2 separate regions of the Homo sapiens genome follow, and region 1 is linked to region 2. The links are contacts of gene promoters, found by promoter capture Hi-C in human tissues and cell types (Jung and others, 2019). All regions are on one chromosome and are shown on one strand. Each heading gives the region's core, a stretch centred on a gene start or on the middle of the fragment in contact. The rest is flanking DNA. Distances are from core to core; before and after follow the strand shown.

Region 1 (5,575 bases), core at 71-2,570, 75 kb after region 2:
AGGAAAAATTAGTTTTGTTATACATCATTTTGCTTCAAGTCAGTTTCCAAGAACCTATCAATGACATTAAGTGAGGGCTTCTTGTACAATTTTGGAGCCCTCCCCTCTTTTTATTTATTTATTTTTTTTAATTTTTTTTTTTTTTGAGACGGAGTCTTGCTCTGTTTCCAGGCTGGAGTGCAGTGGCATGATCTCGGCTCACTGCAACCTCCGCCTCCCGGGTTCAAGTGATTCTCCTGCCTCAGCCTCCTGAGTTGCTAGGATTACAGGCACTTGCCACCATGCCCAGCTAATTTTTGTATTTTTAGTAGAGACAGGGTTTCACCATGTTGGCCAGGCTGGTATCGAACTCTTGGCCTCAGGTGATCCGCCCGCCTTGGCCTCCCAAAGTGCTGGGATTACAGGTGTGAGCCATCGCGCCTAGCCTTTTGGAGCCCTTTTTAAGAAAAATTGTTTAAAATTGTCCTGCTTTTTCACAGTTTACAAAAATATACGACCAGATGAATGTATTGGTAGGATCTGCCTTCTCCCCCCAGGCTAGGGTCTTGGAAGGAGCTTGTGTAAGTGAAGGGTTCTAAAGCTTAAGCTTCTTTAGTTTCATGGTAAATTAGTCTCTGGCAGCCTTTCTGTTTTTGGGTATTGTTGTATTTATGGGACAACTGGAACTGTGGCAGCCATCTTGGGACCATGAGGAAAGTCAGGTTAAGAGGACAAGCCAAGATGCTGAGGGCTGCACAGGGCAAAGAGAAAAAGAAACTTGTTAGAAACACTGAGCGCCTAAATTTCTCAACCTTGGAAGCCTTCTAAGTGCAGACTTCTTGGTGAAATGATAAATATATTAATGTTTAAGCCTCTCTCCAATAACTTGTAGGCAAAGACATCCAAACAAAAACTACCACCATGCACTCTCTCCATTGTTTCATACACATTCACACATACACACAAATAACCCTAAATATGTGGAAAGGAGGTAATCTCAGAATATACGATGATCCTTTACATCAAATTAATTTGCTTTGTGAAAAACTCAATTCATTGTCCTACCTTTTCTCATTGGCTGTATACCCAAGGAAAACTTTATCGTGGCATTTGGGAAGCACTGGTCTAGACCAGAGATACTCAACAGTGTGGTTCATGAGCTAGGGTCAGTCCCAACTGTTCCTTACCAGCCTATCATGAGACAAGCACAGAGATGGAGAGGAAGAATTTAGAAATTTTTTGTAGCATTTGGAGATGTGACAGAGTAATTTTACATCTATTGAATTATTAAAAATTGGGGGGCTTGTACTTTGTATATATTTTTTTCCTAATTTTATTTTTATTTTATTTTATTTATTTATTCTGAGATGGAGTCTTGCTCTGTCGCCCAGGCTGGAGTGCAATGGTGCAATCTCAGCTCACTGCAACCTCCGCCTTCCAGGTTCAAGCAATTCTCCTGCCTCAGCCTCTTGAGTAGCTATACAGGCATGTACTACTGCACCCATCTAATTTTTGTATTTTTAGTAGAGATGGGGTTTCACCATGTTGACCAAGCTGGTCTTGAACTCCTGACCTCAGGTGATCTGCCCATCTTGGCCTCCCAAAGTGTTGGGATTACAGGCATGAGCCATCGTGCCCAGCCTATTTTTCCTAATTTTAAATAAACTTTTAATTTTAGAACACTTTAAGACTTACAGAAAAACAATGAAGTAGTACAGAGGGTTTCTAAACACCCCACAGCCCGTTTCCCTTATTATTAACATCTGACTTTAGTGTGGTACATTTATTACACATAATGAACAAATATTGACACATTATTATTAATGAAGCCCATACTTTATTCGGATTTCCTTAGTTTTTATCTAACGTCGTATTTCTGTTCCAGAATCCCATCCAGGACACTATGTTACCTTTAGTTGTCGTGTTTCCTTAGGCCACTCTTGGCTGTGGCAGTTTTTCAGACTGTCTTTGTTTCTGATGGCCCTGACAGTTTTGAGGAGGACTGGTCAAATATTTTGTAGAATGTCCTTCAATTGAGATTTGTCTGGTATTTTTCTCATGATTAGTATGCTTTTTTTTTTTTTTTTTTGAGACGGATTCTTGCTCCGTCTCCCAGGCTGGAGTGCAGTGGCGTGATCTCAGCTCTCTGCAACCTCCGCCTCCTGGGTTCAAGTGCTTCTCCTGCCTCAGCCTCCCGAGTAGCTGGGATTGCAGGCGCTCACCACCACACCCAGCTATTTTTTGTATTTTTAGTAGAGGTGGAGTTTCACCATGTTGGCCAGGCTTGTCTTGAACTCCTGACTTCAGGTGATCTGCCCGCCTCAGCCTCCCAAAGTGCTGGGATTACAGGCGTGAGCCACTGCACCTGGCCTGCTTTGTTTTTTAATTTGATTTTTCTAGTATAGTAATCTATTTTCATTGTATCTACTAAAAGTGTCAGTCTGCAACAGATTAGGAAAAAATAAAACAAAATTCATTCCTTCCTACAGATAGTTTGAGAAGCACTGTTCTAAACCACTATTGTTCCAGCCTTAGTATTTCATATTCTCAATTTCTCCCAGCGAAATCATTGGTTTATTCTGAATACAATTCTGTCTTCTCAGTTAAAGTATTAGGCATAGGGCTTCTAAATTTGAATCTTTAAGAAAAGGTAAATTACCTTTTTAAAAGAGTCTCTTTTTTTGGCAGTAAATCCTGGACGTCTTACAAAGCATTCGAAAGAGCACACAAACCCCCAGCTATGAAGGAAACAGAAAATGTATTGTTTATAAGTCAAGATCTTTATCCAAGGGGCTTTAATAAAATTTAAGCCACAAGTTCTAGAAATATAGAAACCAGAGCATAGCCACAGTGACGACTTACTGCATTCTGATTTGTGTTGCCTAGTTGCCATGTGTTTTTATTTTTCTTTCTTTCTCTCTTAGTTCCACTATAGCAAGTACTTTGAGCATTGAGAGTCAAAGTTTTCTTATTATTTCATATTCCTCAGTAGGTCATCACTGTCATCTTCTTCTTTTAAAAAATGTCTTCCCTGATGTACTCATTTCGATTATATAAGGAGTCCCCAAAACCTTCTTTCTTTTGGGAGTCTCTCTTTGATCCTTGTATTCAGAAACCTTGCTATAAAGAGGCTGCTTTGGGCTTTGATGATAAAAGCTTCACATGGTGTGTGTTTCCTCTCTGGAACTTGATTCTTCCAGTTGCAAGGTTAGTGTTAAATAGTGTATACAAACCGTTGTATCCCACTTCCTTTGGTTTATTTTTGTAATTCATGAAAGTATAGCCATTTTATTCTTTGTTTACTGTCATAGCCTTTAATTTTTGGTTTACACTTCCTTTTTACTTTAGAAGCTTTTGACTTCATTTTGGAAAGTGAGTTCTAAATTCTTGCCTCACTTATTATGATAGACACAGCCATGAGCTTGATTTCATTTTCGTTGGTCAACCAAAAATGATGACCAACTATCGAGTAGCTGTGAGGGCTTTCCAACAATAGTTTGCCTTAAGGCTTTTACATCTCACTTATTTATTTATTTTTTTGAGACAGAGCCTTGCTCTGTTGCCCAGGCTGGAGTGCAGCGGAGCAATCACTGCAACCTCTGCCTCCTGGGTTCAAGTGATTCTTGTGCCTCAGCTCCCAAGTAGGTAGGATTACAGGCGTGTGCCACCATGCTCGGCTAATTTTTATACTTTTAGTAGAGATGGGATTTCACCGTAATGGCCAGGCTGGTCTTGAACTCCTGACCTCAAATAATCTGCCTGCCTCAGCCTCCCAAACTGCTGGGATTACAGGAGTGAGCCACTGTGCCCAGCCCTTAAATCTCATTTTTGAATTGTAGTAAGACTGTCCTCGACACCTTCTTGATCTCTAGATAACAGTTGCCAACACAGAAAAATGACAAAAAGTGCACTTAAGACTTTCTTATTGTTCATTCAGTGATGTTCATGTGCAAGATATAGCTACCTCTGCATTGTGCTTGCTCAAAAGGTACCCGCTCCTGTTTATTAATGGAAATGCAATTATACATATATATAAATATTTTTTGAGACTCCTCTATCTCAAATATATATATAAATATTGAGAATCCTGTCTCAAATATATAAATATAAATATATATAATATATACTATATATAATATAGTATATATACTATATATTATATATACTATATATAATATAGTATATATATTATATAGTATATATACTATATATAATATAGTATATATAATATATATACTATAGTATATATATACTATATTATATATAGTATATATACTATATTATATATATACTATAGTATATATAATATATATACTATATTATATATATAATGTATATATAATGTAATATATATAGTTTTTGGGTTTTTTTGTTTATTTGAGATGGAGTCTCGCTCTGTTGCCCAGGCTGGAGTGCAGTGGTGTGATCTCGGCTCACTGCAACCTCTGCCTCCTTGGTTCAAGTGGTTCTCCTGCCTCAGCCTCCTGAATAGCTGGGATTACATGTGCCCGCCATCATGCCCGGCTAATTTTTGTATTTTTAGTAGAGATAGTGTTTCACCATGTTGCCCAGGCCAGTCTTGAACTCCTTACTTCAAGTGATCCACCCGCCTTGCCCTCCCAAGGTGCTGGGATTACAGGTGCGAGCCACCATGCCTGGCCATCTCAGGTATATATATATATATTTTTATTTTTATTTACTTATTTTTTATGAGACGGAGTCTTGCTTTGTCGCCCAGGCTGGAGTGCAGTGGCGCGATCTCTGCTCACTGCAAGCTCCGTGCCCTGGGTTCATGCCATTCTTCTGCCTCAGCCTCCCAAGTAGCTGGGACTACAGGTGCCCGCCACCACGCCTGGCTAATTTTTTTGTATTTTTAGTACAGATGGGGTTTCACCATGTTAGCCAGGATGGTCTCAATCTCCTGACCTCGTGATTTGCCCGCCTCGGCCTCCCAAAGTGCAAATCTCGGGTATATTTTTAATGCCCTGCCAGAGATTTTTTTTTTTCTGAATATGTTGCTTTAGAACCATTTCCTTGCTAGTTTTAGTCTGTCATGATCAATTTCTTTATTTCTTTTTCTATTTCATTTTAAACACCTCAAGGAAAGACAACTCATATATTATCTTGCTGTGGGCCTAACCAAATGTGATTCTTTTTTTTGTTAATAGATGGGTTCTCACTCTGTCACCTAGGCTGGAGTGCAATGGTGTGGTGATGGCTCACTGCAGCCTCAAACTTCTGGGCTCCAGCAGTCCTCCCACCTCAGCCTCCCAAGTAGCTTTATCCAAGGACTACAGGTGCCTGCCACCATGGCCTGCTAATTTTTAAATTTCTTGTAGAGATTGGGGGGGGTCTCACTGTGTTGCCCAGGCTGGTCTTGAACGCCTGGCCCCAATCCTCCCATCTCAGCCTCTCAAGGCACTGGGATTACAGGCGTGAGCCACCATGCCTAGCTGCCAAATGTGATTTCGCCACAAGGTCGTTTGCTTGTTTATTTGCTCATTTACTTACTCATTTATTCACAAATTCAACAAATGCTTAGTGATAACCTATTATGGGGCAATGCCAGTGCTAGGTATTAAAGAAACAATAGTGA
Region 2 (5,784 bases), core at 1,647-4,146:
GCTTGGATTTTATTTTAAATGCAATGGGAGCCAATGAAAGGTTTAAGCAAAACAGTGACATTATCTTATTTACATTTCTATTGTGGCTGCTGTTTGGAGACCAGAGGCAAGGTAAGGAAGAGTTGTCTGACTAAAAGAAGGGAGATCACTACGTAGTCAGGAGAGAAATGATGGTGGTCTGAACTAAAACTCGGATAGATTCAAGATATATTTTCACATCAAAGTGAATTAGACTTGCTGAGTTTTGGATGCAGAGAGGAAGAGAAAAAGAAAAGTATAGGATAACTCCCAGTTTTCTGGCTTTAGTAACAAATGGATCATGATGAATAATACTGAAACGGTCTAGAAACTGAGTTTGGGAAAGAGGGACAGAGTCAGTTCAATCATTCCATAAATCTTTATTGAGTTTCTACTATGTGAGAATACAACAGTGTATAAAAGAGAAAAACTCTTGCCCTCATAGAGTTTATATCACTGGGGTGGGGGCAGTTAGACAAATTAATATGTACAACCATCACATGGTGGTAAGTGTTATGGAAAAGAAAAGATAATAAAGCTGGTTAAATACGCATGAGGTTAGCATTTTAATAGAAGGATCAGAAAGAGTCTAACGTATGAGCAGGCACCTAAAAAAAAAAACAAAGGAGGCAGCCCTGAAGATTTCTGAGAGAAAGAGTTCCTGGCTGTCTAAATACCACTGCGAAGGTCCTGAGGAAGGAGTGTTCTTGGTATGTTTGAGGACAGACAAGGAGGCCACAGTGGCACAGCAGATTAGGTAAGGGAGAAAATAATAGGAGATTAAATCAGAGGAACAGATAATATAGAACTTTGGTTAAGGACTCCAGCTTTTACTTTGGGTAAAGTGAAAAACCACTGGAAGATTTGAACAGAAATGGAGGAGTAGCATAACTGTGGCTGCAATATGGAAATTGTACAAAAGGGGAGCAAGGACGGAAGCAGAGACATAAGAGGAAATAAGTTTATGTCTCTGGTAGATTGGACCAGGTGATGGTGAAAGGGTAAGATTTAAGATAAGTTTTGAAGAGTAGATGGGATTTGTTGTAAGATAAGTTTTGAAGAGTAGATGGGATTTGTTGATGGGACTAAACAGAGTTGGGTTAAGAGAGGAGTCAAGGAGAACTGAAAGGTTTTTTAGCCTGAACCAAAGGAACAATGAGATTGACATTTACTGGGTTGGGATGAGCATGGGAAAACAGATTTATGATGGAAAACAAGGAGTTCAGTTTGCCATATTAAAATGAAGATATCTATTACAAATCTAAAAATATTGATGTTGAATAAGCAGCTGTTTTCTGGACTTTAGAGAAGACTAGGTTGGAGATACAAGTCTGGCAGTCTTAAGCATATAGATGGTATTTAAATTATGTGAATAGACATAGTAAAACGTGTAGACAGACAAGAAGGTCCAGAACCAAATCCTCGATTCACTCCATCAGTTAGACATTTCCATCTCATACCCCGTATTCTTATAACTGGTTTAATTTTTAAAGCTATCACTTACTACATAAGCAGTTTCTAAAGTCATCAAGAGCACCAATAAGACACAGCAACAAAACTAAAAAAGAGTTTGTCATTCAAACCTCCTCAAAAGAGAAAGGAAAGAACTCCATCCACGATCACAGAAATACTAAGAACTCAAAACATTCCCAAATATAGAGGATATAAAGTCTAGTGGTTAAGTGCGGGTACATAGGTCCAAGCTGTCTGAATTTTAATTCTTGTACCAACACTTAACTATTTGTGTGACCTGGGGCAAAGCACTTACTGTGCAGCTTCCTAATAAGTTGGGGATAAGTCATTCGGTTGTTGCGAATGAATTAATACCTGAATTTTTGTGCTCAGAATGCTAGCTATCTTACTATCATTGACTATCATTGACACTAAATTGTTGAAACATAAGTTGAGAGTGGGAGATCCTGCAGCTAATCACACTAATTTTTCAATTTTCTTAACCAAGAACTTGTAGCTGTTTAGATTTCGAAATGAAACCAAAACATTTTCCTAAAGGCAATTCTCTTAACTAAAAGCATGCAGCTCCCAATCTGAATTTTAAAACAAGGCCAAAACACGTTCCCAAATTCCTAAGAATCTAAAATAATCTTTAGAGGCAGGGAGGGGAAAGGGGCGTTAACAGCAAGCCTCAATTCACACATTAGAGTAAGCATGTCTGATAACAAAGTCCATCTGTGACAGACTACCAGGCCCAAATCCCTCTAAAGCAGTTATTTGATTCTCTTCTACTCTCTCCTCTAGAGAATGAGTATAAATATGCTTTCGAAAATAGAAAGCCAAGCTTTTGAATGGGAGTACATACAGCAAAGAGCTGGGAATCTAACTTAATGGCAGCAACGGGAAAACTTCTCCAGAGAGTCACCACTTATTCCTTTTTTCCCCAGTGACCAAGAGCACCGTGGGGTCAAACTCCTCTTGGGTGGGTGATGGGGAAACGGCGACCTTCCCTCATCTGGCCCCTACGCTGTCCTCTGGTAGCAAAGCTCCGGTGCAGAGCAGCTAGCTACACTCCCTCTCTCTCGCTCCTCTCGCTGGTATCTGGTGCCCGGACGGGGAGCCCCAGGTTCCAGCCTTCGGCTGCCTGGCTGGAGGACACACAGCAGAAGAAACAATAGGGCCGTGGCGGCCGCCGTACCTCTCCCGGTCGCGGCCGTCGAAGTAGACGAAATCGCCGCTCTGAACGCATTTGGCGCAGGTCAGCCGCCGGCGGGTAGTGTTGCACAGCGGGCAGCGCTCCACAGCCACGTACAGCCCCTCCGCATCGTCCACGGAGTCCACCAGGTCCCGGGCGAGCGGCCGGGGCCCGCAGCCAGGAGCCTCCAGCGCCCGGGCTCCCTTCCCACTGGGAGACGCCATGATGGCCTGAGAGGAGAGCCAGTCACGTGGGATTTTGTTTTCAACCGGGTGCATTCTGGGCCAGGAGGAGGGGCCTGGGGAAGGGGGGCTGGGATGCCGGCGAGCCCCCGGACCCCTCCGCCGCCGCGTGTTCCTGTCCCGGGCACTGTTGTTTTTCCGGTCTGCTGAGGGGCAACAGGTCCCGAAGCAGGGGGAGAGTTATATTAGAGGGGCTAGTCGGCCAAACAAAATGTCATCTGCTGGCTCAGGCCAAGACTACGAGTTAAAGCCTCAAACTTGTGCAGAAAATTGTAATACCATACCCTAAGGATTCTGGGAAAACGGAATGGGAGCGGAATAAGGGAATTTAACTTGCTGTGGATGCTTTAAAATCTGGCTAAACTACAGCAAACAAAGTAGGGTGAAGGGGCTGGGTCTTGGAACTAGGTTGAATTTTGGCTCACTCACCTGCTTAATAGCTGTGTGACTTGGGGCAAGTTCCTTAATCTCTCTGCGCCTGTTCTCTCGTGTTAAATGGATAGAATTATAGTACCCATCTAATGCCGTGAGGATTAATATGGTTAATAGTATTATACTTTACCAATAGTGAAAACAACCAAAGTGAACGTGCAAAATCAGAATTGTATCCTTCTGAAAAGTTAATCACGTGGCTAACGTACCTTCCCTACCCTGGGCCATGCTCTAAGAGAATTTGAACTAGGTAGATGGTTAGGACTTCCCTTCAAGTTTCTTTTGGTGGATAGGGGATATATAAGGTGATGTGTTGGGAGGATCATATCAGAGTAATTAGTGTTTGAATATGCCTCTAAACTACAGAGAAAAGTGAGTTTATAGGTGAGATTAAATAGACCAGTGATTCTCAAGGATGATTTTACTAGGCTATCTACTGATAAACTGCCCTGAATTCTCTCTCTAGCCAGGATTCCTTTCTCAAGTTCCATACCCAAAGATCCAGAACTACTTACTAGGTATCAGGTGACATTCCAGGACACCACAAACTCAAAGTGTTGGAAACTGACTTCTGCCTCCCTACAAACCTGTTTTCTTACTTTGGTAAAGGACGTAATCACTGATGATTTACAGCCAAGAGCCATGATTCATATTAGCCCGTCCCTCCCTGTTAATCTCCACATCACCATCGAAAACTGGTGATTCTACAAGCTAATTAGGTCTTGAATCTGAGCCCTTTGCTCCTCCGTCTTCTTAATCTTACCCAGTCTTTTTAAATACAAATCACGTAGGATTACAAAAACAAGCAAAAGCAAAAATTCTCTATATTCAGAATACAGTTTACACTAAACTTGAATGGTTCCTGAAAGTTTAAGATTTATTTTTAAGTGAGAAGTCTTTCTCTCTGATCATTTCAAACAAAAGGATTATTTTTTAAGGTCTCGGGCTTATGTTTCATTTGTATTCAGACAGGATCCTTCACAGTGCTTAATACCTAATGATCAGGATCAACTGTTCAATATTTTAAAAGGCAAAAAATACACATTAATTCCTATCGTGCTAGATGATATCACAGATAGTATCTAGCTTATGCAGTTATTTGAAACTCCTATATGTTGCTATATATTTTCAGAGAACGCATATTAATGTATTACTTAACAGCAGAGCACTGAGGTTTTTGGATACAAAATGTAGTTTAAATATTTCTTTAAGGGGAGGGGGCGGCGCCACACTTCTCAATGAAGAGAAACATTTGTACAGTTCAGAATTTTTTTTGACACCTATTATGCCATGAACTCATAGGGAATAGGTTCCAGCAGCCCAGGCTCCCTCCATTGGTTCTAAGTGCTTGTCTGGGTGGAGCAGGCTGGCGCTTCAGTTGAACTCAGACACCTCTCCCTTTGACGTCTTTTTCTGATTATTTACCTTCACGCGTTTCAGGAAACTTACTTGGCTCTTAGAGTGCCAAGGCCCAGGCAGATGGATCAACTGAGGTCAGGAGTTCAAGACCAGCCTGGCTCAGTAAGCACATTCATTCTCTTGGCAAAAATCTTGCCCTTGTTTACAATGCCAACAGCATGCTGGGTAACACTGTAGACTCTTCCAGCTTTGCTGTGGTAACATTTGCGGAGCACTCCTTTTTGAAAAGCAGCCATTCCCTTGATGTCTACAATATCACCTTTTTCGTAGATTCGCATGTATGTGGCCAAAGGAACAACTCCATCTTTTCTAAAAGGCCTAGAGAACATGTATCAGGTGCCTCACCTCTTTCCCTTTGTGTTCGTCATTTTGGCAAATTACTGGAAGATGGCCCTTCCGGCTAAAAGGAAACGCATTGAGTCTTCATGATGCTACAATATCATTCTAGTGAGACCCTAAATCTCTCAAATTTTGAAATGTTTACTTGTTCAGTTTTTAAAATAACACAAAAGGAGTCATTTTGAATAAGAATTTTTCTTCGTTTCTTAGGTTACTTACACAGAGTCGCCCTTTAATAAGTAACGTACTTGTAACATCTACAATTAAACGTAGAAGAATCCAGCTGTTTCTGTGCTGGGCTTATGGACATATTCAAACCAGAATAATGTGAGATGCTGAATGATATGCTCAGGCTTTTTTAAAACCTTTTAGAATAGGATAGATGTTTTCAAATGCTTCATAGATCTCAGAACGTTCTTTGGCACCTATAAAGAAATCCAGGTTTATATAATTTTTAATATAAAAATACCAACATTTACTTAAACACTAAAATTTCATTGTATTGTCTCCAATTACTTTTAATATGACATCTCTTTAGCTGTACCTGAGAAATGGCATTTATTCCGGGTAAATAATTTGGCAACTACAGCCATATTTCCACAAGACAGAAACCTTAGAGCAGAGTTTTCTAGAACTTCTCTGTGGGTGTCATCTTTGCTCACACAGTGCTCAGTATGAAATGTGGAA

Evidence for each region. Contacts are between HindIII fragments. The study calls those that stand out against the background at their distance.
Region 1: a fragment that was not itself captured here is called in contact with the fragment with the promoter of ATG14 in region 2 in 2 of the 25 tissues and cell types used here (pancreas and thymus).

The regions. Positions count from the first base shown.
Region 1 is chr14:55,485,577-55,491,151 of GRCh38, forward strand. No RefSeq gene overlaps it. Among named protein-coding and RNA genes, the nearest start is that of TBPL2, 48 kb to the left of the region's middle. The HindIII fragment of the contact is 3,824 bases long and covers 1-3,232 here.
Region 2 is chr14:55,408,934-55,414,717 of GRCh38, forward strand. It overlaps ATG14 (autophagy related 14), which reads right to left and starts at 2,897. Exons shown (of 10, transcript NM_014924.5): 1 at 2,669-2,897. The coding sequence starts at 2,889. TBPL2 (TATA-box binding protein like 2) reads right to left here. Exons shown (of 7, transcript NM_199047.3): 7 at 5,277-5,522. The coding sequence ends at 5,446. It also overlaps a transcript of FBXO34 not described here and the pseudogene RPL21P6. RefSeq lists a silencer at 2,887-3,186. The HindIII fragment of the contact is 14,251 bases long and covers 1-5,784 here.